Regions from separate parts of the Homo sapiens genome. Here region 1 is linked to region 2. The links are contacts of gene promoters, found by promoter capture Hi-C in blood cells and fetal thymus (Javierre and others, 2016). All regions are on one chromosome and are shown on one strand. The core of a region is centred on a gene start or on the middle of the fragment in contact, and the rest is flanking DNA. Distances in the headings are between cores, read along the strand shown. Region 1 overlaps GABBR2 (gamma-aminobutyric acid type B receptor subunit 2). Region 2 holds the start of ANKS6 (ankyrin repeat and sterile alpha motif domain containing 6).

What was found. Contacts are between HindIII fragments. The CHiCAGO score rates a contact against its expected background, and 5 or more counts as called.
Region 1: a contact is called between a fragment that was not itself captured here and the fragment with the promoter of ANKS6 in region 2, in 2 of 17 cell types (M1 macrophages and M0 macrophages). The highest score is 5.3, in M1 macrophages.

What each region holds. Positions count from the first base shown.
Region 1 is chr9:98,333,991-98,337,791 of GRCh38, forward strand. The region is part of intron 13 of GABBR2 (gamma-aminobutyric acid type B receptor subunit 2); the gene reads right to left. Among named protein-coding and RNA genes, the nearest start is that of TBC1D2, 80 kb to the left of the region's middle. The HindIII fragment of the contact is 1,001 bases long and covers 839-1,839 here.
Region 2 is chr9:98,794,487-98,798,634 of GRCh38, forward strand. It overlaps ANKS6 (ankyrin repeat and sterile alpha motif domain containing 6), which reads right to left and starts at 2,069. Exons shown (of 15, transcript NM_173551.5): 1 at 1,647-2,069. The coding sequence starts at 2,005. LOC124902229 (a long non-coding RNA gene) reads right to left here. Exons shown (of 2, transcript XR_007061689.1): 2 at 3,962-4,148. RefSeq lists enhancers at 1,332-1,832, 1,833-2,333 and a silencer at 1,592-2,211. The HindIII fragment of the contact is 11,591 bases long and covers 1-2,697 here.

The DNA of each region.
Region 1 (3,801 bases), core at 89-2,588, 460 kb before region 2:
AACTTGGAACAGTGCTTACCACATAGCATGCACTCAAGAAAAGCTGTTGCTATGATTATTTTTGCTATTGTTACTCCTAAGACAATGCAGCTTTGTTGAAATCCTAGAAGAAGGCTGAGTAGATCTAGTACTAAGGATGAAGCGGGACTGGAAGGTGAAGCTCTCAGATCTAAACTTGCTGGATTTGAATATCTGTTCACTCTCATGAACCATCAACCAGATAATCACAGATGTGAAAGAGATTTAAGCATTTGTAAGAGAACATTATGCACAATTGGAAGCTAATAATTTTGAAAGCATCAATGAAGAAAAAGAAAACAAAGGGACGGATGCAAAAAGAAGCAGGAAGTGTGAATGGATCAATCCCAGTGGAAGGGATACTGACTCATCCAATACCACAAGGCTTGGGCTGGGTTCCAGTTCTCATGCGTAGCAAGCAAGGTTATCTCAGGCCAGTCAGGTCACCTACTCAGCTTTAGTTTCCTCTGATGAATCTCTAAAATGGGGATGTCAAGGTGCTTTGTGAACTTTGCCATGCTGTTGAAATGTGAGACACTGTTGTCATTATTATAGTACGTGTTTGCTTACTATTGGGTGCTTGCATGTGAGTAGGGTAAGCCTGGAGTTGGGGTACCAGTCCAGAGAAGGGCAAGAGTATGGGTGGGTGGGCTGGGAAGTGAGATTTGGGCAGGACCAGCAATGATCGTGTTTCTTCTGGCTGCTGTCCCCTAAGGGGTGGTTCACAGGTTGTCTCAGCCTCCTCTGACATGAACAGAGCATCTTTGGGGCATGTTAAATGTTTCATCCTTTGTCAAGGACAAAACAACTCAGTATTTGAAGCTTAATCCACTATCGCTTTAGGGAGAAACTTCAAGCTAAACAAGGGCAGAAAAGAATGAACATCCCACCACAGGGCTGGCGGTTCCTTTCCGAGCCACCATGAGTGCTGAGGTGCCTGGACACTGTGGTTCCCTTGTCCTTTTTTCTTCCCTGTTGGTTTCTGTGGTCAGTGGTTTCCTTGTGATTGTAGAGCACTTAGAAACAAACCTGCCTAAAGTTCTGGTGTGGAACTTGCTCACCCTCTGTCTTCCCATTGCAATGAACAATGCTGCAGAAATAGAAACCTCATAGAAACCTCCCTTTTTTCCTCTTCCTTGCTCTCTCTCTTCCACTGGAGAAACAATTGTTCAAATGCTAACACAAAGATTTTCAGAAAAATATGAGACCAGAGGGCCTGCGTAGCTCTTTGGGGTCTGCACACATGAACTCCCCAGGTGGGCCTCTCTCTGAGTCTGTAATTCTTTTGTCATCATCATCATCTCTGGCTGGCAGGGACCAACTGGACTTCAGATTTTCTGGATTCAGCCTTTTCTTCTTTTACTTTCTAGTCGTAAAAATTTATTGTCCTGAGTCTATTTATCACCCTGGTATCCAAGGTACAGTCTTGGGCCCTTCCTAGAGATTCGTGAGAGTCTGGACCAGAGAATCTCAACTCCGGCTGCACACCAGAACCCATGGCAACTTTAAAAAATTCCTGATGCACAGGGCCCTTTCTAAGCCAGTTAAATCAGATATTTTGGGGGGTGTGACCCGGGCCGGTATTTTCAAAAAGATCTTTTCTGGGTGATGTAGCAGGATTGAGAACCACGAGTCAAGTTTCTCTTTGAAATCATTCAACAACAACAACAACAACAACAACCAAACTTCCTCTTCACCTTTAAAACATTACTTATTTTTCTTTTTAGTATCAACATATTCATCCAATAGTTCAATCCAGCTACTGAGCAACCACATTACCTACTCAGCTGTTGTCAGTGCTGACAAGAATCATGCCAGGGAAGCTTGTCCATCATCCATTCATTCATGCACGCATTCCTTTGTTCATTCATTCACTCATCCATTCAACCAACATATATTGAGCTGTGTGTCTGTCTGGCCCTGTGCAAGGCCATGGAGAAAGAGCTCTGAGTAAGATAGTTAAGGGCCCTGTTTCATGGGGCTCACATTCTAGTGGATGATAGAATATAGATGAGAGAACGAGGAATAAGCAATGTGATGGAGAAACAGGGGAGGTGAGAAAGAATGTTGGGGGACATTTAAGGATCTGGTGATCAGGGAGGTGGCATTTAAGCTAGATCTGAATGACAGGAAAGAGTCTGAAAAGGTTTGGAGGAAGAGCGTTCCAGGCAGAAGAATCATGAATGCAAAGGCACAAAGTTGGGAATAAAGTTGGAGTGTTAGAGCTCCAGACAGAAGGCCCACATGGCTAAAGACTGGGGTGAGCACAGGGAGAGGAACTAGATGAAGTCAGATATGGAGTGGGACTGGATTGTGTAGGACCTGTAGCAAGGTAAGAAGTGTGGGTTTTATTTTAAATTGGAGAATTTTAAGTGCAAAATAGTAAGATACGTCGTGCGTTTAAAAAAGATATCTGGCTGGGCGCAGTGGCTCATGCCTATAATCCCAGCACTTTGGGAGGCCAAGGCGGGTGGATCACAAAGTCAGGAGTTTGAGACCAGCCTGGCCAATATGGTGAAACCCCGTCTCTACTAAAAAATACAAAAATTAGCCAGGCATGGTGGCATGTGCCTGTAGTCCCAGCTACTCGGGAGGCTGAGGCAGGAGAATCGCTTGAACCCAGGAGGCAGAGGTTGCAGTGAGCCAAGATCACGCCACTGACTCCAGCCTGAGCGACAGAGGGAGACTCTGTCTCAAAAACAAAAAAGTATCTTCCAGAATGGCAGATGTAAATCCTGCCTTTCCAGTAATTACATAAAATGGATTAAACACTCCAATTGAAATGCAGAGATTGGCAGAATGAATTAAAAAAAACATGATCTGACTATATTTGCTGTATATGTGACTCACTTTTGATTCAAAGATATAAGTAGGTTGAAAGTCTATCCGAGAATTTTTTGGCTATTCAGGAAAATGGAATATGAAGCATACAAATTGGAATGAAAGGAGCAAAACTCTCTATTTGCAAATTATATAATCTTATGGGTAGAAAATTCTAAAGAATCCACCAAGAAGGCTGGGTTCAGTGGCTCACACCTGTAATCCCAGCACTTTGGGAGGCCAAGACAGGTGGATTACCTGAGGTCAGGAGTTGAAGACCAGCCTGGACAACATAGTGAAACCCTGTCTCTACTAAAAATACAAAAATTAGCCAGGCATGGTGGTGGGTGCCTGTAACCTCAGCTACTCAGGAGGCCGAGGCACGAGAATCGCTTGAACCCGGGAGGCGGAGGTTGCAGTGAGCCAAGATTGCACCAATGCACTCCCGCCTGGGTGACAGAGTGAGACTCCATCTCGGAAGAAAAAAAAATTGCTGAAAGAAATTAAAGAAGACCTAAATAAATGAAAAGATAGCCCATGTTCATGAATTGGAAGACAATATTCTTAAGATGGCAATACTCCCCATATTATCTACAAACTCAAATCAACGCTTATGAAAATCCCAACAGCCTTTTTTACAGACATGAAAAAACTGATCGTATAAATCATATGGAATCTCAAGGGACCCTGCATAGCTAAAACAATCTTGCAAGAGAAGAAAAAAATCAGAAGACTCACACTTCCAATTTTAATTGCCACAAAGCTACAATAATCAAGTCAGCATGGTGTTGGCATAAGGATAGACATATAAATTGGTGGAATAGAATTGAGAATCCAGAAATACAAGTACACATCCATGGTCAGCTGATTTTCAACATGGGTTACAAGACTATTCAATGGGGAAAGGATATTCTTTTCAACAAGTGGTGTCCAGGGGCGGTAGCTCACGCCTATAATCCCAGC
Region 2 (4,148 bases), core at 819-3,318:
CTTTTCTTATGAATTACGCAGCAGAAAGCTGGAGCACAACTCAACACAGGCAGAGATGCTACCTGAATATAGAGTCGGTGTCACACCAACTGAGGAACAGCACATTTTAAAATACCCAGGCTCAAGACTATCCTGCAGAACTTGGTTAAAACTGATGATCTGGGGTCTCTGAGACACTCTGAGGCATGTCAGTGCTGTAGTCACAAACCTCACTCAGTAAATTCCTCAGGGGGCTCACCAGGGCCCCTGTGCACGCACTTGGTGGATTGCAGAGATGAGACACACATAACACATCAGTGGCTCCCAAACCTACCATACAAGAGAATCACTGGGGAGCCTCTTCTCACACAGAGTCCCTGTCTCTTACTCCCCTCACTGCCCTGGGCCTTCTAAATCACAATCTCCAGAAAAGGAACTCAGGAATCTGCACTTAGACAAGCATCCTGGTGATTCTGATGTGTGGCCAGGTTTGGGTACTGAGGAAGCCAGTCAGCATTAACATGGTGTGATGGATGCTACCACAGAGGCCTTTCTGCTGCGGAGGGACCAGAGAACAGGGAGATATCATGGCAGGCTTCACAGAAGCCAGATCTCTAGATGCCATCCTTGCTGTCTCTCTTAACCCCTCCCCAAGGGCCAGTCGTCAACTCCTGCTGATCTACTCCCTGAATATATCACAAATTCATCTGGGTGCCCTCCCTCCGCTGTCTCCATTCTGGTCTAGGCCACCATCACCTCTCACTCAGACTGCAGCAAACTCTACCTAACCAGCCTTTTTGACTCTAGCTTACCCTAGAGTATCTAATCTATTCTCACACTTCAAGGAAAGTAATTTTTCCAAAACGTAACTCTCATCCTGTCACTCATTCTGCCTAGAACCTTCCATGACTCCCTAGCACCTTCCATGACTCCCTAGCACCCTAGGATAGCTAGCGTTTCTCAGCTCCCACACTCCCCCAACTCCCTGGCATCTGCCTTCTCTCCAGGGAGGACTAGTACATCATTCTACTCATACATTCTACGCATACCTCATTCTACCAGTCCTACCAGCTCGTGCACCCAAGCCTTTGCATGGGCCTCCCATCATGCCTTCCCACAGCCCACTTGTAATGTCCTGGCTAATTCTCAGGTATCCGCAGGTCTCCACGTGGATATAAACATCTTTTCTACCAGAAACCTTCCCCCACGTCTCCAAAATGGGTCACCTGCCCCACAGCTACTCAAACCTTTCCGGTCAAGCTCGTTCCTTTGCCTGGCCTGCCCACCAATGCCCTGGGTGGGGACTCTGCCTGGGTCTCGCAGCACCCTCAACGCCAAGCCAGGAAGGGAAGGCAGGTTCTGAGGAAACTCTTACTGCAATAAGAAATGAATTAAATCTCTAAGGTTCTAAGTCTCTACAATTCTATTCGCTGTCTCCAGATTCTATTCTGAAAGGCCAAAATTTCTAAGAATCTGATTTTATGTTAATTCAAAAGTGTTTCCACGTCTATGCTCAAAGTTTACAAAAGACTACTCAAAGTTTACCATTCCAACTCTAAGGAGTCCTTAACTCTTCACCTCCCGGGGCATCCGGCCGCCGGGGACCGCGTCTCGGGCCAGCGCCGGGCACCACTCTGGTCCCGGGCCCCCGGGCCCCGCCGCCTCACCTGGCCGCCTGCATGAGCGCGCTCCAGCCGTAGTGGTTGCGGCTGTTGACCGAGGCACCGCGGCGCAGCAGGAAGCGCACCAGCGGTTCGTGGCCCCCGGCCGCGGCGAACTGCAGTGCGGTGTTGCCCGCCTCGTCCGAGCAATCCACGGGCACCGGAGCCCCGACTGCCCCCGCCGCTGCGGCCCCGGGCCCGGCCACCTCGGCCCCCGCCGGCTCCGCGCCCGCCTCCGGCTCCGCGCCGCGCTCGGCTGGCTCCGCCGCCCCCGGCTCCAGCAGCCGCCGCGCCGTCTCCGTGTCGCCCTGGTCACACGCGCGCAGCAGCAGCTGGAAGGCCGGGGGCAGCCCGCCCTCGCCCATCGCCGCCGCCACGCGCGGCCCGCTCCCGTCCGCCCCGCCGGCCGCGTCGGCTCCGCCCCCGGATACCGCCCGCAGGCGCCCCCTTCCGGCCACCCGCCCGCGCCGCGCGCCTACTGTGTGCCGGGAGCGCGCCGGGGCTAGGGCCGCGCGCCTGCTGTGTGCCGGGAGCGCGCTAGGGCCGGGGCTGCGCACCTCCAGTGCCCGTATTCGGGAGTCCAGGGACGCTCAGAGGAGCGCCCGCCGCAGACCCGCGTGTTCCCTTTTGCCTCTTCGGCGCCCTCTCGCCGCCCTGTCCCGGGGCTCCAGAAACTTCCTGTCAGGGCAGAGGTGGGAGCGGCCACGCCATCCCCTCTTCACGCTGTGGTCAGGGCCCTGGGCCCGGGTCTGAGTCCGCAGCTGCGTGGGCCTTGACTTTACTAGCGGGCTCCGCTGACCCCACCGCAGCCCCTGGCACTGAACCTGCCCTTCTAGAATAAGGAAGCGGCTGAATTAAGGAACGAACGGATTGTTTCCTCACAGTGTCCTGCGGTGCCCTTAATGTCGCTCCTTCATCTGGGCCAGGCTGCTGGGGCTAAAAGCGCCTCCTGTTCTCTCTCTCTCCCCCACCTTTTATTTCAACTATTATTATAGATTAAAGGGTACAGGTTTGTTACATGGGTAAATTGTTACATGGGTAAATTGCGCGACGCTGAAGCTTGTGGTCCCAACGATCCCGTCACCCAGGCAGTAAGCATAATACCCACCAAGAGGTTCTTCAGCCCAGAGTCCCCTCCATCCCTCCCTGGCCTAGCGATCCCCAGCGTTTGTTGTTCCCATCTTTGTGTCCATGTGTACTCAATGTTTAGCTCCCACTTATAAGTGAGAACATGCAGTATTTGGTTTTCTGTTCTTTTTAGGTCGCTTAGGATAATGGCCTCCAGCTTTATCCATGTTGCTGCAAAGGGCATGATTTCGTTCATTCTTATGGCTGCATAGTATTCCGTAGTATTCCATCATATTCTATCGTGTATATGCACCACATTTCTTTCATTCCTTCCCTCTCTTCCCTCCCTCCCTCCCTATCCCCCTTCCTTCCTCCCTCCCTCCCTCCCTTTCTCCCTCTCTCTCTCTCTCTCTCTCTCTCTTTTGACAGGGTCTTGCTCTGTCATCCAGGCTGGAGTGCAATGGTGCAATCTCTACTCACCACAACCTCTGCCTCCCAGGCTCAAGCAATCCTCCCACCTCAGCCTACCGAGTAGCTAGGACTGCAGGCAAGTGCCACCACACCCGGCTAATTTTTTGTATTTTTGGTTGAGAAAGGGTTTTACCATGTTGTCCGGCTGGTCTCAAAGTCCTGAGCTCAAGTGATTCACCTGCTGTGGCCTCCCAAAGTGCCAGGATTACAGGTGTGAGCCATCACATCTGGCTCTGTACCACATGTTCTTTATCCAATCTACTGTTGATGGGCACTTAGGTTGATTCCATACCCTTGCTATTGTAAATGGCACTGCAATGAATATACAGGTGTCTTTTTGATAGAATGAATTATTTTCCTTTGGGTATATACCTGGTAGTAGGTTTGCTGGGTCAAATAGTTCTATTTTAAGTTCTTTGAGAAATCTCCAAACTGCTTTCCACGGTGGCTGAACTAGTTTGCATTCCCACCAACAGTGTATTTTCTCCACAGCCTTAGCAGCACCTATTGTTTTTTGACTTTTTAATAATTGACATTCTGACTGGTGTAGATGATATCTCATTGTGGTTTTGATTTGCATTTCTCTGATGATTAATGATGTTGCGCATTTGTTTCATATGTTTGTTGGCTGCCTGTATGTCTTCTTTTGAGAAGTGTCTGTTCATGCCCTTTGCAGAGACACAACGAAAAAAAGAAAACTTCAGGCCAATATTCCTGAAAAACATAGCTGCAAAAATCCTCAATGACATACTACAAACAGAATCCAGCAGCACATCAAAAAGTCAATTCACCATGATCAAGTAGGCTTTATTTCTGGAATGCAAGGTTGGCTCAACATGCGCAAATCAATACATGTGATTCACCATATAAACAGAATCAAAAACAAAAACCATATAATCATCTCAATAGATGCAGAAAAGGCCTTCAATAAAATCCAACATCCCTTTATAATAAAAATCTTCAAAACAG